3 separate regions of the Homo sapiens genome follow, and regions 1 and 2 are each linked to region 3. Evidence: promoter capture Hi-C in 16 types of primary human blood cells and fetal thymus (Javierre and others, 2016). All regions are on one chromosome and are shown on one strand. The core of a region is centred on a gene start or on the middle of the fragment in contact, and the rest is flanking DNA. Distances in the headings are between cores, read along the strand shown.

Evidence for each region. The method cuts DNA at HindIII sites, captures the fragments that hold promoters and counts their contacts. A CHiCAGO score of 5 or more calls a contact.
Region 1: a fragment that was not itself captured here is called in contact with the fragment with the promoter of ANAPC13 in region 3 in 1 of 17 cell types (non-activated CD4 T cells); the score reaches 7.8 in non-activated CD4 T cells.
Region 2: a contact is called between the fragment with the promoter of NMNAT3 here and the fragment with the promoter of ANAPC13 in region 3, in 2 of 17 cell types (naive CD8 T cells and activated CD4 T cells). The highest score is 7.7, in naive CD8 T cells.

Annotation. Positions count from the first base shown.
Region 1 is chr3:140,937,103-140,941,610 of GRCh38, forward strand. No RefSeq gene overlaps it. Among named protein-coding and RNA genes, the nearest start is that of SLC25A36, 2.5 kb to the right of the region's middle. The HindIII fragment of the contact is 3,620 bases long and covers 38-3,657 here.
Region 2 is chr3:139,675,677-139,680,829 of GRCh38, forward strand. NMNAT3 (nicotinamide nucleotide adenylyltransferase 3) reads right to left here and starts at 2,296. Exons shown (of 7, transcript NM_001401600.1): 1 at 2,029-2,296. RefSeq lists a silencer at 2,350-2,399. The HindIII fragment of the contact is 2,876 bases long and covers 869-3,744 here.
Region 3 is chr3:134,484,299-134,488,802 of GRCh38, forward strand. ANAPC13 (anaphase promoting complex subunit 13) reads right to left here and starts at 1,687. Exons shown (of 3, transcript NM_015391.4): 1 at 1,654-1,687. CEP63 (centrosomal protein 63) reads left to right here and starts at 1,759. Exons shown (of 15, transcript NM_001353108.3): 1 at 1,759-1,904. RefSeq lists enhancers at 1,342-1,461, 1,492-1,591, 1,672-1,781, 1,873-2,691. The HindIII fragment of the contact is 3,493 bases long and covers 1-1,866 here.

The sequences.
Region 1 (4,508 bases), core at 598-3,097, 6.5 Mb after region 3:
AAAACAGAGGCAAACTGAATCCAGCAGCACATTAAAAAGCTTATCCACCACAATCAAGTTGGCTTCATCCCTTGGATGCAAGGCTGGTTCAATATATGCAAATCAATAAACATAATCCATCACATAAACAGAACCAATGACAAAAACCACATGATTATCTCAATAGATGCAGAAAAGGCCTTTGATAACATTCAACACCCCTTCATGCTAAAAACACTCAATAAACTAGGTATTGATGGAACATACCTCAAAATAATAAGAGCTATTTATGACAAACTCATAGCCAGTATCATACTGAATGGGCAAAAGCTGGGAGCATCACCTTTGAAAACCAGTACAAGACAAGGATGCTCTCTCTCAACACTCCTATTCAACATAGTATTAGACGCTCTGGCCAGGGCAATCAGGCAAGAGAAAGAAATAAAGGGTATTCAAATAGGAAGATAGGGAGTCAAATTACCTCTGTTTGCAGATGACATGATTGAATATTTAGAAAACCCCATCATCTCAGCCCAAAAACTCCTTAAGCTGATAAGCAACTTCAGCAAAGTCTCAGGATACAAAATCAATGTGCAAAAATCACAAGCATTCCTGTACACCAATAATAGACAAACAGAGAGCCAAATCATGGGCAAATTCCAATTCACAATTGCTACAAAGAGAATCAAATACCTAGGAATATAACTTACAAGGGATGTGAAGGACCTCTTCAAGGAGAACTACAAACCACTGCTCAAGGAAATAAGAGAGAACACAAACAAAGGGAAAAACATTCCATGCTCATGGATAGAAAGAATCAATATCGTGAAAATGGCCATACTGCCCAAGGTAATTAATAGATTCAATGCTATTCCCATCAAGCTACCATGGACTTTCTTCACAGAATTAGAAAAAACTTCTTTAAATTTCATATGCAACCAAAAAAGAGCCCATATAGCCAAGACAATCCTAAGAAAAAAGAACAAAGCTGGAGGCATCATGCTACCTGACTTCAAACTATACTACAAGGCTACAGTAACCAAAACAGCATGGTACTGGTACCAAAACAGATATATAGACCACTGGAACAGAACAGAGGCCTCAGAAATAACACCACACATCTACAACCATCTGATCTTTGACAAACCTGAGAAAAACAAGCAATGGGCAAAGGAGTCCCTATTTAATAAACTGCTAGCCATATGCAGAAAACTGGAACTGGACTCCTTCCTTACACCTTATACAAAAATTAACTCAAGATGGATTAAAGATTTAAATACAAGACCTAAAATCATAAAAACCCTAGAAGAAAACCTAGGCAATATCATTCAGGCATAGGCATGGGCAAAGACTTCATGAATAAAACACCAAAAGCAATGGCAACAAAAGCCAAAATTGACAAATGGGATCTCATTAAACTAAACAGCTTCTGCACAGCAGAAGAAACTATCCAGAGTGAACAGGCAACCTACAGAATGGGAGAAAATTTTTGCAATCTATCCATCTGACAAAGGGCTAATATCCAGAATCTCCAAGGAACTTAAACAAATTTATAAAAAAAAAAAAAAAAAAACCAGCTGGGCACAGTGGCTCATGCCTGTAATCCCAGTACTTTGGGAGGCTGAGGCGGGTGGATTGCCTGAGGTCAGGAGTTCAAGACCAGCCTGGCCAACACAGTGAAACCCCGTCTCTATTAAAAATACCAAAAAAAAAAAAAAATTAGCTGCGCATGGTGGCAGGCACCTCTAATCCCAGTTACTACGGAGGCTGAGGCAGGAGAACCACTTGAACCCAGGAGGTGGAGGTTGCAGTGAGCTGAGATTGCACCATTGCACTCCAGCCTGGGTAACAAGAGCAAGACTCTGTTTCAAAAAAAACAAGCAAAAACAAAAACAAAACAACAACAAAAACAATCCCATCAAAAAATGAATGAAGGATATGAACAGACACTTCTCAAAACAAGACGTTTATGTGGCCAACAAACATATGAAAAAAAGCTCATCACCACTAGTCATTAGAGAAATGCAAATGCAAACCACAATGAGATACCATCTCACGCCAGTTAGAATGGCGATCATTGAAAAGTCAGGAAACAACAGACGCTGGAGAGAAGGTGGGGAAATAGGAATGCTTTCACACTGGGTAACAGTGTGGGAGTGTAAATAAGTTCAACGATTGTGGAAGATGGTGTGGCGATTCCTCAAGGATCTAGAAATACCATTTGACCCAGCAATCCTATTACTGGGTATATACCCAGAGGTCTATAAATCATTCTACTATAAAGACACATGCACACGTATGTTTCTGGCAGCACTATTCACAATAGCAAAGACTTGGAACCAACCCAAATGCCCATCAATGTTAGACTGGATAAAGAAAATGTGGCACATACACACCATGGAATACTATGCGGCCATAAAAAAGATGAGATCATGTCCTTTGGAGGGACATGGATGACGCTGCAAACCATCATTCTCAGCAAACTAACACAAGAACAGAAAACCAAACACCCCATGTTCTCACTCATAAGTGGGAGTTGAAAAATGAGAACATATGGGTACAGGGAGGGGAACATCCACTCTGGGGCCTGTCGGGGGTTGGGGGGCAAGGGGATGGATAGCATTAGGAGAAATACCTAATGTAGACAACGAGTTAATGGGTGCAGCAAACTACCATGGCACATGTATACCTACATAACAAACCTCCACATTCTCCACATGTATCCCAGAACTTAAAGTATATTAAAAAAAAAAAAAAAAAAGGAACTGGTAACAAAGAAAATCTCAGAAAGTTTCTTACTCTTTTCAGTTAAGAGAAGGATGGAATATATGTAAATTTAAATTTATATAAACATTTTTCCTAACTAAAAAAAAAACTATGTATGAATTTCAAACTTTTTTGCACCAAAAATTCGTACTCACTTGTTATAATGTATCTGAACAAGATCTAGTTTGAGGCACTAAAAAGGATAAGACATCAGCTTGAAAACAGCCCCTATCAGAGCAGCATGAATTGAAGCAAGAAAAAACATCAAATTTATGGTCAAGATTGGGTGGAAGAATGGTGAAATCAAGGATGCTTTACAAAAGTTTGATGGGGAAAATTCCCCCAAAGAAATCTGAAGTTTACAAATGGATAACTTGTTTGCAGAAGGGATGAGACAATGTTGAAGAGGAAGCCTGCAGTGGCAGACAATCCACATCGATTTTTGAGGAAAAGATTATTCTTCGGTGTGCCCTAATTGAAGAGGACCCACAATTAACAGCACAAATAATATACAACACCATAGACATTTCAACTGGTTCTACTTACACATTTCTCACTGAAAAACTGAAGTTGAGCAAACTTTTCACCCGATGGGTGCAAAACTGTTGCACCCAGATGAGCTGCAGACAAGAGCAGGGCTTTCAATGGAAATTGTAAACAAGTGGGATCATATATTGAAACATTTCTTTGAAGAATTGTAACAGGAGATCAAACATAGCTTTCTCAGTATGATTCTGGATCAAAGCAATAGTTACCAAGAGGTGCAAGTGGTCCAGTCAAATCAAAAGTAGACTGGTCAAGAGCCGAAGTCATAGCAGCAGCTTTTTGGGATGCTCAAGGTATTTTGCCTGTTGACTTTCTGGAGGGTGGAAGAGCAATAACATCCGCTTACTATAGGAGAAAGTGAAGCAAAGCTTTAGCATAAAAACACCTACGAAATCTTCACCAGAGAGTCCTTCTCCATCAGGACAATGTTCCTGCTCATTCCTCTCTTTAAATAAGGGCATTTTTCCAGGGATTTCGATGGGAAACTATCAGGTATCCATCTTACATTCCTGACCTGGCTCCTTCTGACATATTTTTGTTTTCTAATCGTGAAAAATCTGTAAATGGCACCCATTTTTCTTCAGTTAATAACGTAAAAAAGCCTGCATTTTCATGATTAAATTCCCAGAACCCTCAATTCTTTACAGATGGACTAAAGAGCCGGTATCATCACTTACCAAACTGTCTTTAACTTGATGGAGCTTACGTTGAAAAACAAAGTTTATATTTTTAAATTTTATCTTTTAATTCCATTTCCCATGAACTTTTATTCTTTTAAAAACAAACCCAAGTATTTTAATTCTACTTGCCTTTTTTACTTATTACACACTTCGGGAGATTTTTTGCCATATGGAATCACCTCATCCCTTGTCACGATTGCATAATATTCCATAGTAGGAATGTTTCATGATTTATTTCTTCATTCCCCCACTGATTTCAATTTTCTGCAACTGCAAGCATTGTTCATAATTCTGTACTGTTTGTGAGCCTATATAGGAGTATCCGTGCACAAACCTTTTTATGCATTGTGCGAGGGTTACTCTGAGATAGACACCAAGGGAACTGCTGGGTCATAAATCCAATTTTTTCAAAGTAAATCCGCTTGCGAACCCGGAACCAAGTCGATTTTTCCCGCCCCGCCAGTTCCCTGTTCAGGAGAGTGCAGCCGTGATTGGCGCGTTCACTCAGGCCAGGGGCGCCCCAGGTCTCAGGTGCTA
Region 2 (5,153 bases), core at 1,046-3,545, 5.2 Mb after region 3:
CCCGCCTCTGCCCTGTCTTGTTTCATCAATTTTTGTCCAGACTAAGGAACGATATCAATAGTTATAGTAGTAGTATCCTCCCACATGTCAGGTACTGCTCTATGTATTTTAGGTCCTCATTAAATCCCCATAATAACCTTCTGAGGTAGACACTACAACTATGTATATTTTAGTTCATTCAGGAGAAGGAGAGGGTGGGAGTTAATATTTCTTCAGGGCCAACGATATGCTAAGCACCTGTTAAGCCTGAGCAATCCTCACGACTCACAAGGTGAGTGAGCTGCCCAGGGTCAGTCACAGAGCTGAGAAGTGCCAGGTCTGTGACCACCAAGCCTGGAGCTTCCCTTCTCATGGGCTGGCATCCTGCAGTGGTCTGAGAGGGGAAAAGAGAGGCTGCACAATGGCTGCTCTCTCTCCTCTTCCCTCCAACACCCTCTGTTAACATCATACCTGTTCTTTTTTACCACTCCCCACAAATGGTGCCAGACTCCTGCCTCATCTGGGTTCCCCTACTCTCTGGGCCTCTCAGTTGGTTTTCATGGAGCACTTTCTTTGTCTACAACAATGTTGTGAACAGAGCCAAATAAGAAATTGGGATCATTTGAGCCAATAAAATACAGTGAGCAGCTGACAGATGTTTCCTGAAACCTAAAATGCTCTCCCAAATCCATGGGGTCTCAAGGTCTGACACGTCCTTAGCAAGGTCCCAGCATAGTTGCTGCTTCTGGGAAGTCTTCTGTCCAGTTTTAAGAGGTGACACCAAAAGCTGAGAACCACCAATGAAATTCAAGAAGTAACTGATGCTCAGTGGAGCTGTGTGAACCATACCTTCAGGGGCTCCTGGGTGGCTTTCTGAGAAAAACAGAGAAGCTTTCCCCTGCAAGGCCAGTGGGTAAGAACCCTTTCTCTGGGTTGTGCCAGGGTGGAACTGTCACTTTATTTCACCTGGCCCACCGGACATGGGCTCCAGGAGGGCAGGGCCCCTGTCTGATTTCTCTCTGAATCCTCAGAGCCAGGGTAAAGTGGGCGCCAGTTAAATGTTTCAAGAATGAACAACTAAACCAGTCATCATTTTAGAGAACAGGCTGTTTGAGAGATTCTACTCAGAACCACTTATTTGATAGAGGAAGAAACAGGACTCAAGGAGAGGGGAAGTGACTTTGCTGAGAGGCAGGCACACTGTGTTTAGTCCAGAACAACATCAAGCCTTGGATGTTTAGTGCAGAGTAACATCCAGCACCCATCACGCAGTGCTAAGTCATTTACATTCACCATTTCCATTCTCAATGGGTAGAACAATCCCATTTTACAGAGGAGAACGTTAAGGTTAAGGAACTTGCTTTCCCCCCAGCTCTCTGCAGGCCAGCCCCACCAACCCTCCTTTCCTCAAGCCACATTCTCTCCCAACAAAATGAGTTTGCTCTGTTGTTCCCCGCCCGGGAATTCTCTAAAGTTTTAGTTCCAGCAGCCTTTGTAGCTGGGGGCCCTGATAAAATCTCTCCAGCACCCTAGAATTTCAATCTTCATAGCTCTGACCACAGTTTTAACGTTCACACTTGTTTGCATAGATATCCATTTGCTGTCGGTCTCCCCCCACTGGACTGTGAGCTGCACGGGGGAGGGCACCACATTTTTTGGCCTGCTACTGTAACCCCAGCACTTAGCCCAGCAGCGGACACTGAGTGGAACACGTTAAGTATTTGTTAGACACTGTGCTTATATTTTTAACCTTTGAGTGCACGAGTGCTAAAGGTGGGATCCGAACCCACGTCTCCGGGACTCTGGTCATAGCCAAAGGGGAGCTGGGGGTTAGGTTGACACGCTGCAGCGAGAACCGCCGGCGCGCAGAGGCAGCGCGGAGCTGTCCCCCCGGTTCGCGCCACCCCGGATGGCTCCGCACTCCGCCGCCACCTGTCGCCCCAGCGGGGACTCCCAGGACTCAGTTAGGGGCCAGGAGTCACGTGGGCCCGGGCATTCAGCCGCGATCCAGGTCCTAGTGGGCTGACGAGGGGCCCACGCTGCGCTTACCTGCTATTTGCAGGGCTCAGCAACGGCGCTCGGCGAGTCTCGGGGGACTGCGGGGGACTAGGGGACCTGCTGGGCCTAGCAGGGGCTGTCGGTCAGCGCGCGGCCCGGCGCCCGAGGTCCGAGAGGGAAACGACGTTTGGTCTCGGGACTCAAGGCTGCCTCCGGCCCGGGCAGCCTCAGGTCTAGATCCCCTAGTACCTGAGCTGGAGGCGGGGCCAAGGCGAACTTGACCTTGCGCTCCCTTAGCGGCCCCGGGCAGATGGAGTCTGAGGGAAACAGATCTGCGCCCCGCCCCTTCGCTGGGGCGGGCCCTAAGGAGACCCGGCCCTGGCCCCGCCCAGGGTCCTAAGCCCCGCCCTCTCCCCTGCCCCCGCCCCCGCCCGCTGGCTCCCAACCGCCAAGGCTCTTTTGTGTTGCGTGCGTGTTTGCTTTTTTATTCTCCTGTTTTGTATTCTGTTTGTTTTGTATTTTTATTTAATTTTCTTTTAAAAAAATACATGAAAGTAACGCCCACTTACTTATTAGAAAATAAAATTATCTAGATTTGCTTATAATGAAAGCAACAGGCCACTTCTCCCTCCCATCACAGCTCTTTTTAACAATTCCTCCGTTAATTTCTTCTAGTGGTCACCCGCTTGTCGCAAAAAAAAAATAAATAAATAAAATAAAAAAATAAAAAAAGAAACTTACATAGCGATTTCTTGATTTATCCATTGACTTTCTGCCATGTTATATGAGGATCTACTCTCTTACTGCGCGGCCCCTGTTTCCTTCTGACAAATTTACACCTCTATTCTCAAGCCCTGCCCTGGTAAACGCCAGACCTCAAAGCAGGGAAGGATTTCTGGGGCCTGAAGCATACACAGTTGTGTGGGGAGAAGGAAGGGAGGGCTGCTTAAGAAAGAGAAGACAGAATTAGGGCTTGCCAGTGAACATTTATTTGGAATGAGAAAATAAATCTTAACAGAATCCTGGGGTCTTAGAGATTGGGGTCCCTATCCCCTAAAACCTTCTTAGGAAATTTAGGTCCCAAATTTGCTTCCCTAACGCAGTCTGGCTTCCTCTGCCCACCCAGAACTCTCCATAAGCCCCCAGGGCTCATGGGAGCCTTGCAGAGAGAGGCCTTGAAGGACAAGATTCACTAGATTCTGCCAATACAGTTTCCTAATGGAGTGAATTGGAGTGTGCGAAAAAGAGAGACATCAAGGATGATGTCAAGGTTTTTTGATTGCTGTACACTTAATTTCCAGCGTTTCCTAGACACAGGAACACAACCTCATCTTAGTATGGAGAGTGTTTTATAAGCCTGTCCACATCACCAGAGCCTCACGGTGCACCCATGAAGTTGGCTGGACGGGTGCACTGTCCACAGTTTTAGGAGGCCCATAAATTTGTCCCTTGTGTATTAGCACCGGGGGCATGCAACTTGCACCCAATAAGTACCCAGGTAAATGGTACTTCCCCACTCAGTCTGAAGACACAGTGTCCGTGCCCTCTCGGATCCCTTTTCTCTTACCTGTGGTGTAAAATGTGGCTCCAGAAGGTGATCTTGGACAAGTCTCTTTACTTCCCAAGCCTCACTTTCCTTTCGTATAATGGGAGGTAACAACCCCTACCGCACTGAGTTTTGGGGAGGATTAAGTGGCTTAACATCTTTGGATATTCTTTAATTGATAAGTCAGCTTATTTCCCAGCAGGGTGGGAGGCTCATGAGAAAGCTTAGGGATTTCTGAGAATCTTGTGTAGCATGTAGTACCACAGGTTGATTAGAGGCCTTCGATTAAAATCGTGGGCTGAAGAGTCATTCTGGGTCAGGGCCCTAGGCCAGGGAGGGAGAAGCTGCACACAGAGAGCAGAGAAGAGGCTGGGCAATGACTTCCTCATGCAAGGGAAGCTTTCTCTGCCTGAGGTAGTGAAGACTAAAGCTTGGTCTAGGAGGAAGCCTGGTTTCCTAGGCAAGAAAAAAGGAATGAATTAATGGCATTCACAGCAACTGGATGAGATTGGAGAGTGTTATTCTAAGTGAAGTAACTCGGGAATGGAAAACCAAACATGGTATATTCTCATAAGTGGGAGCTATGCTATGAGGATGCAAAGACATAAGAATGACACAGTGGACTTTGGGGACTCAGAGGGGAAGAATGGGAAGGGAGTGAGAGATAAAAGACTACAAATTGGGTTCAGTGTATACTGCTCGGGTGATGGGTATACCAAAATCTTACAAATCTCCTCTAAGGAACTTACTCATGTAACCAAATACCACCAGTTCCCTAATAACCTATGGAAATAAAAATATTTTTTTAAAAAAGTAGCGTCCCCTTGTGCTGGAAGGTAAGAACCTCATATAATAGCCAAGCTTTACCTAACCTAAGCGGTGAAGACGCAATGGCTGAGAAATCCATTTTGGAGAGGCAACTACCTCCTAATTTTTTAGAAGGAGGAATACCTAAATGCAAGTCTTGTATTTGCTTAAGCTCACAAAAAGACTACTGGATTATGGGTATAATGGGAATAATATTTTCAGATCTCTCCTTTATTGGTAAGTTTCATTTCTCCTGGATCCTATCTGCCATTATGGCTCAAGGAAGGTGGCCACCTAATGCCACCTCAGGAAGGAGGAAGATTTTACATAGAGGATGTCTCAGCTTGAGTGCCTCAGAACCAGATCCTGAGGTAAGAATTAATGCAAGTAGTTATTTGAGAGGTACATGGAACACCAGCAGAGTAATGAAGAAGCAATACAGGGAAGAAAAGGGGAGCTCAATAAAAGATTAAGCCAGCTACTATAATAGATGTTTAGGGCTTAATCCTAGGGGAAAACCCTAGAAAACTGTGTGAAGAGCATGCCTTGGAATCATCCCACCCAAGGCTGCAGGAGACAGGTCTCTACAGGGAAAAAAGCTGGAACTGACCACTTAGCTCATATTTTTGAACATTTAAAACATTATTTCTAGGCATAAAAATGTCATTACTAAAATGAGATCTGGCTACAGTATAACACTATTCTGCAGTTTCCTTCTATCACTTAACAGTGTGCTGATGAAGTTTCAGGAGGAACTCTTTGGGCAGTAAGCAATGTGCAGATGGCTGAGAGTCACAGTCCTGGGATGGACCTGAGGCCATTC
Region 3 (4,504 bases), core at 437-2,936:
GAACCTGGGAGGCGGAGCTTGCAGTGAGCCGAGATAGCGCCACGCGCCACTGCACTCCAGCCTGGGCGACAGAGCAAGATTCCGTCTCGGAAAAAAAAAAACAAAAAAAACCAAAAAGGCTCACAGCTGTCCCCCATAGGATAACTGCAAGATATCCCTAACACCTTGGCAAAAATTATACACAGATTGGTGTGGGAAAGGGTTTACACCCCCATGACAAGGATCTCGGCAAAAGTTAAGCAAAATGCGCCCTGCTACTTCTGTCACCGGTGAGCCAGGTGAGGGCTTAATTAATCCAGTACTCAATAATTAACCGAGTACTACCCAGTGGATAACTCAAAGCAAGACGAAGTTTTGGTTATACTTTTGAAGTCCCTGTCTTACAAGTGCTCCCCACTTTCCTGCTGCTACTCCTTTGTCCTTGCTGCTCTGTCTCCTGGGATACCCTTCTCACTTTCCTCAGCTGATCCAAACCTGACTTTCGGAGGCCCACGTAGATTTTCCACCTTTGTAAAGTTTTCTCAAATCACTCGAGCTTCAGTAGGCCTTCTATCCTTGAACTCTTGCTTCTTGTCCTAACTTAATCTACTAAACAAGCTAGGTCAGCTTTGTGGTCAATTGCTCAGGTATTATTGCCTCCAACTGTTACGTGTACATTTTGTACCCATGATTCCTTAGTAGATCTTTCCACATTTGGTCTCAATCTTTTTCACCTGTCCCTTCTCCAAACACCTCCAACCCTGTCACATTTTCCAGCCTTGACAGTTAAAACCCCCTTTTCCACATCACTAATGCCACTCTTCCTTTCAAGATAAACGCAGGCGTCAGCTCTTGAAGGTCAACATCCCATTTCCGGGATTAGGCGCGAAGGTGCCTTCCCTCATAAGGGGCTGGAAGGATGGGAAGCATCAAGATAATCAATGCCCAGGGCACACTGATTATCTTGTGTATTAAAGCCACCGTCCCAAGTACTCGTCACCCAGTACGACCACTGTTTCCTGAACAAACTTTTCTTACTCACGTGACAGTCCCGATGCCTGCAATGCTCTTTGTTTCTTCCTTTTTATTCCAGTGAACCCACAGTCAGTCTAAAAATCTTAGGTCCCAGGTCGCTTCCTATAGGAGGCCGCCTCCAAACCCCAGGCTGAGTGCGGTCCCGGTACCCACCCCTCCAGGGGTCTCACAGTTCCCTAAGCACAGAGCATGGCACCAACTGGGGAGTCTGTCAAACAGCCCAGATGAATGTCTTTCCAAACACGCGGTGCCTGCGTTTCCAGGGACAGGGACACGTCTTATCAATTTCTATATATTACAGCTTTGTAAACATAATATTTATAAAATCAAAGCGGGAAAGCCTTGTTCCTTGCTAGAAATGAGCCTCGCAGGCCACCACCATCCGCACCGTACGACAGGCCGTCCCTCAGCTGCGGCTTCCTGCCTCAGGCAGGATGTACCAAACGTGGAAGCGGAGACGGGGAGGTCTGGGGGTGCCACGCAAGTCCCTTTCCTCCCGACACGAGTGCAGTAAAGAAAAACGGTTATGAGCGTAAAGTGACAGCCTCGGCCGATGGGAATAGGGGGAAGTCCGACACTGAGCAACGAACGCATTCCCGCGCCTCCAAAACCTAGGCCGGGGGCGCTGGAAACCCTTACCGGCACCCGGCCACCGCGGCAGACGCTTGCTCCTGCCACGCCCCCCCCCCCTCCCCCGCATCACGTGTCTGCACTCGCTTTCCTCGGATTCCCGGATGTGGGTGAGTTCATTTGCTCGCGTGCAGGGGAAGTCTGGAGAAGGCATTGTTTCAATTATTAAAAGTGTGGGGGCAGTGGGCGGAACAAACGCGCCGACTACAGAGGCTGGACGTAAGCTTAGCGGTGGCGCGCGTGCGCAGCGCCGGCCCGAGGTAACGGCGGGAAGGCTCAGGGGCGTGCTTGCGGCAACCCTGTAACCGCCGGTGCGCAAGTTGGAGGGGCAAGGGGCTGCCGTGTCCTGGTCTGGAGGCGGCCCAGGCTGCCTTGGTGATTCTGGCTTCGCGGCCTCATGGCTTGCGGCCGGTTTGCGCAACGGCCTGCGAACCACCAGGCGCGTCCCCGCCGGCTTGGGTCCGCCCCGAAGCCCAGTCCCTCGGCCTGGCCCGCTATGCCCTGCACACTGGCGGAGTCTGGCGTGGCGCAGCCCGGCGTGGGGTTCGGCCCCGCCAGGTGGTCAGCCCTTCCTCGGAGTCCAGGTGGCTGGGGGCGCTTCGGAGAGTGGCCAGGTGGGCGAGCGAGCTGCGCCCAGTACTCACCTTCCCCGGCGGACCCACCTTCCTTTTCAGCGGAGAGACCCCAGTGCGGCCTCCCTGCCAGGGCTGCTGTCTAGCTAGCGCTGTTGGGACTACTTCATTCACGGCACAAGGGGACCCGCTCATTTAGTGTGGCATGTTAAGGTTGGCAGCTTTTAAAATAGTGAGTTGGTTTAAACGGTTATGTTAGTACAAGAGGTACGGAAATGTGGCATAAATCGTGGACTGAAATTGGAGAACCCTGAACTAACGGCTCCATGCACACAAATGAGGGATAGAAAGAAATAAGGACGGTTTCTTAGGAACACTTTAATCATGGAGATACTTGAAGACAGTACATTTAGGCTTATAATGTGGTTTTTCTTACGTCCCTTACGACATCAGGAGAGTAAAGATGAGTATGATGTCAGAGACAGGTCGTCTTTTACAGTTTCAGCACCGTACGCTGATATGCACAGAGTAGTTTTCCCTGAGCCTTATGTCTGGTTAAACTTATTAAAAGAATTTATTATTTTAATAAAGCAGTATTGTAGGGTAGATGCCCTGTATTTATACAGTTCCTCAAGTGCTTGCATTTATTTTTTAGATACGAGGAAATCATAAGGATCGTTGATTAGATTTCTGTTAGCTGTAGCTTAATGATAAAGTGTATATATTTTCTTATTTGGCATGCAGTACCATTTTTAGATTGATTTTTATTTTGAGTTTGCTTTTTGACTGTGGCATTATCAGTGATCAGGGTAGTAAAAAGCTCTGAAACTAAATTAGAGTAGAGATTTATAAACAGGCACACTGCCTTTTAAAATGTATGTAGATGCAAATCTAAAAGTTGTTTGTAAAAATTGTGTATGTTGATTGTACTGATGCCATTTCCTCTCGTTAAAATGGTGGAAGACCTTTGCTTAGTCCTTTCTGTTCTAATTTATGTTGTGCTGGCAGATGGTGACAGCATCAGTAGTCCACTCTGTCATTGCTTCCTGCTTTCAAAAAATGTCAACTTGACTTGAAATTCAGCTAAAGCCAACATTGACAGAAGGTTTCAGGAACTGAATCTCCGATCTTTATGTTATTTTAGTCCGCCTCCCCGCCCCCATCAGGAGCTAGGTTTTTCAGTTTTACAGAGCCACAGTACTGTCATTACACATACACAAATTAATAAAAATTCTCTAATGTCAATATCCAGTCAGATAACGATTTCTTCAACTGTCTCTTAAATGTCTTTTTACAATTAGCTTGTTTGAACCAAAATCCCACAGGGATCTGCCTATTGTGTTTGGGTGATGCACATTTGACATCTTTTAATCTATATTTGTTCCCTCATAGTTATAGCTATGGGATTAGCCCCTATTTTTCCTTACAGTTCTAAATTTAGCAGATTGCATCGCACAGTATCCTTTAACATGTATCTCTGTTGCCTTTGTGTCCTCTAAACCAGGGGCCCCCAAACCCGGGGCCGCAGAGCAGTACCAGTCCGTGGCCTGTTAGGAACCAGGCTACAGAGCAGGAGGTGAGTGACAGGCTAGTGAGCATTACCTACCACCTGAGCTCTGCCTCCTGTCAGATCAGCCGTGAGGTTAGATTCTCCTAGGGGCACGAACCCTATTGTAAACTGCGCATGCAAGGAATCTAGGTTGCACACTTATAAGAATCTGACTAATGCCTGATGATCTGAGGTGGAATAGTTTCATCCTGAAACCATGCCCCTAACCCTGTCCATGTGTATTATTCATATTACTGAAGAAGTGGTTGGCCGGGCGCGGTGACTCACGCCTGTAATCCCAGCACTTTGGGAGGCCGAGGTGGGCATGAGGTCAGGAGTTTGAGACCAGTGTGGCCAACATAGTGAAACCCCGTCTCTACTGAAAATGCAATAAAATTAGCCGAGTGTGGTGGTGTGCGCCTGTAATCCCAGCTACTCGGGAGGCTGAGGCAGGAGAATCACGTGAATCCGGGAGGCGGAGGTTGCAGTGAGCCGAGATCACACCATTGCTCTCCAGACCAGGCAAGAGTGCAAGACTCGGTCTCAAAAAACAAAAAAAAGTGGTTTGGCCATTCCTCCCCCAAAACATTTCATATGAATTTTAACAAAAAGATATTTACAAAATGTGTTATTTCCGCCCTGTCGGTGTTGAGAAATTGTCTTCCATGAAACAGGTCCCTGGTGCCAAAAAGGTTGGGGACCACTGCTCTAAACCAGTAGTTAGATGTAGAATTGCACT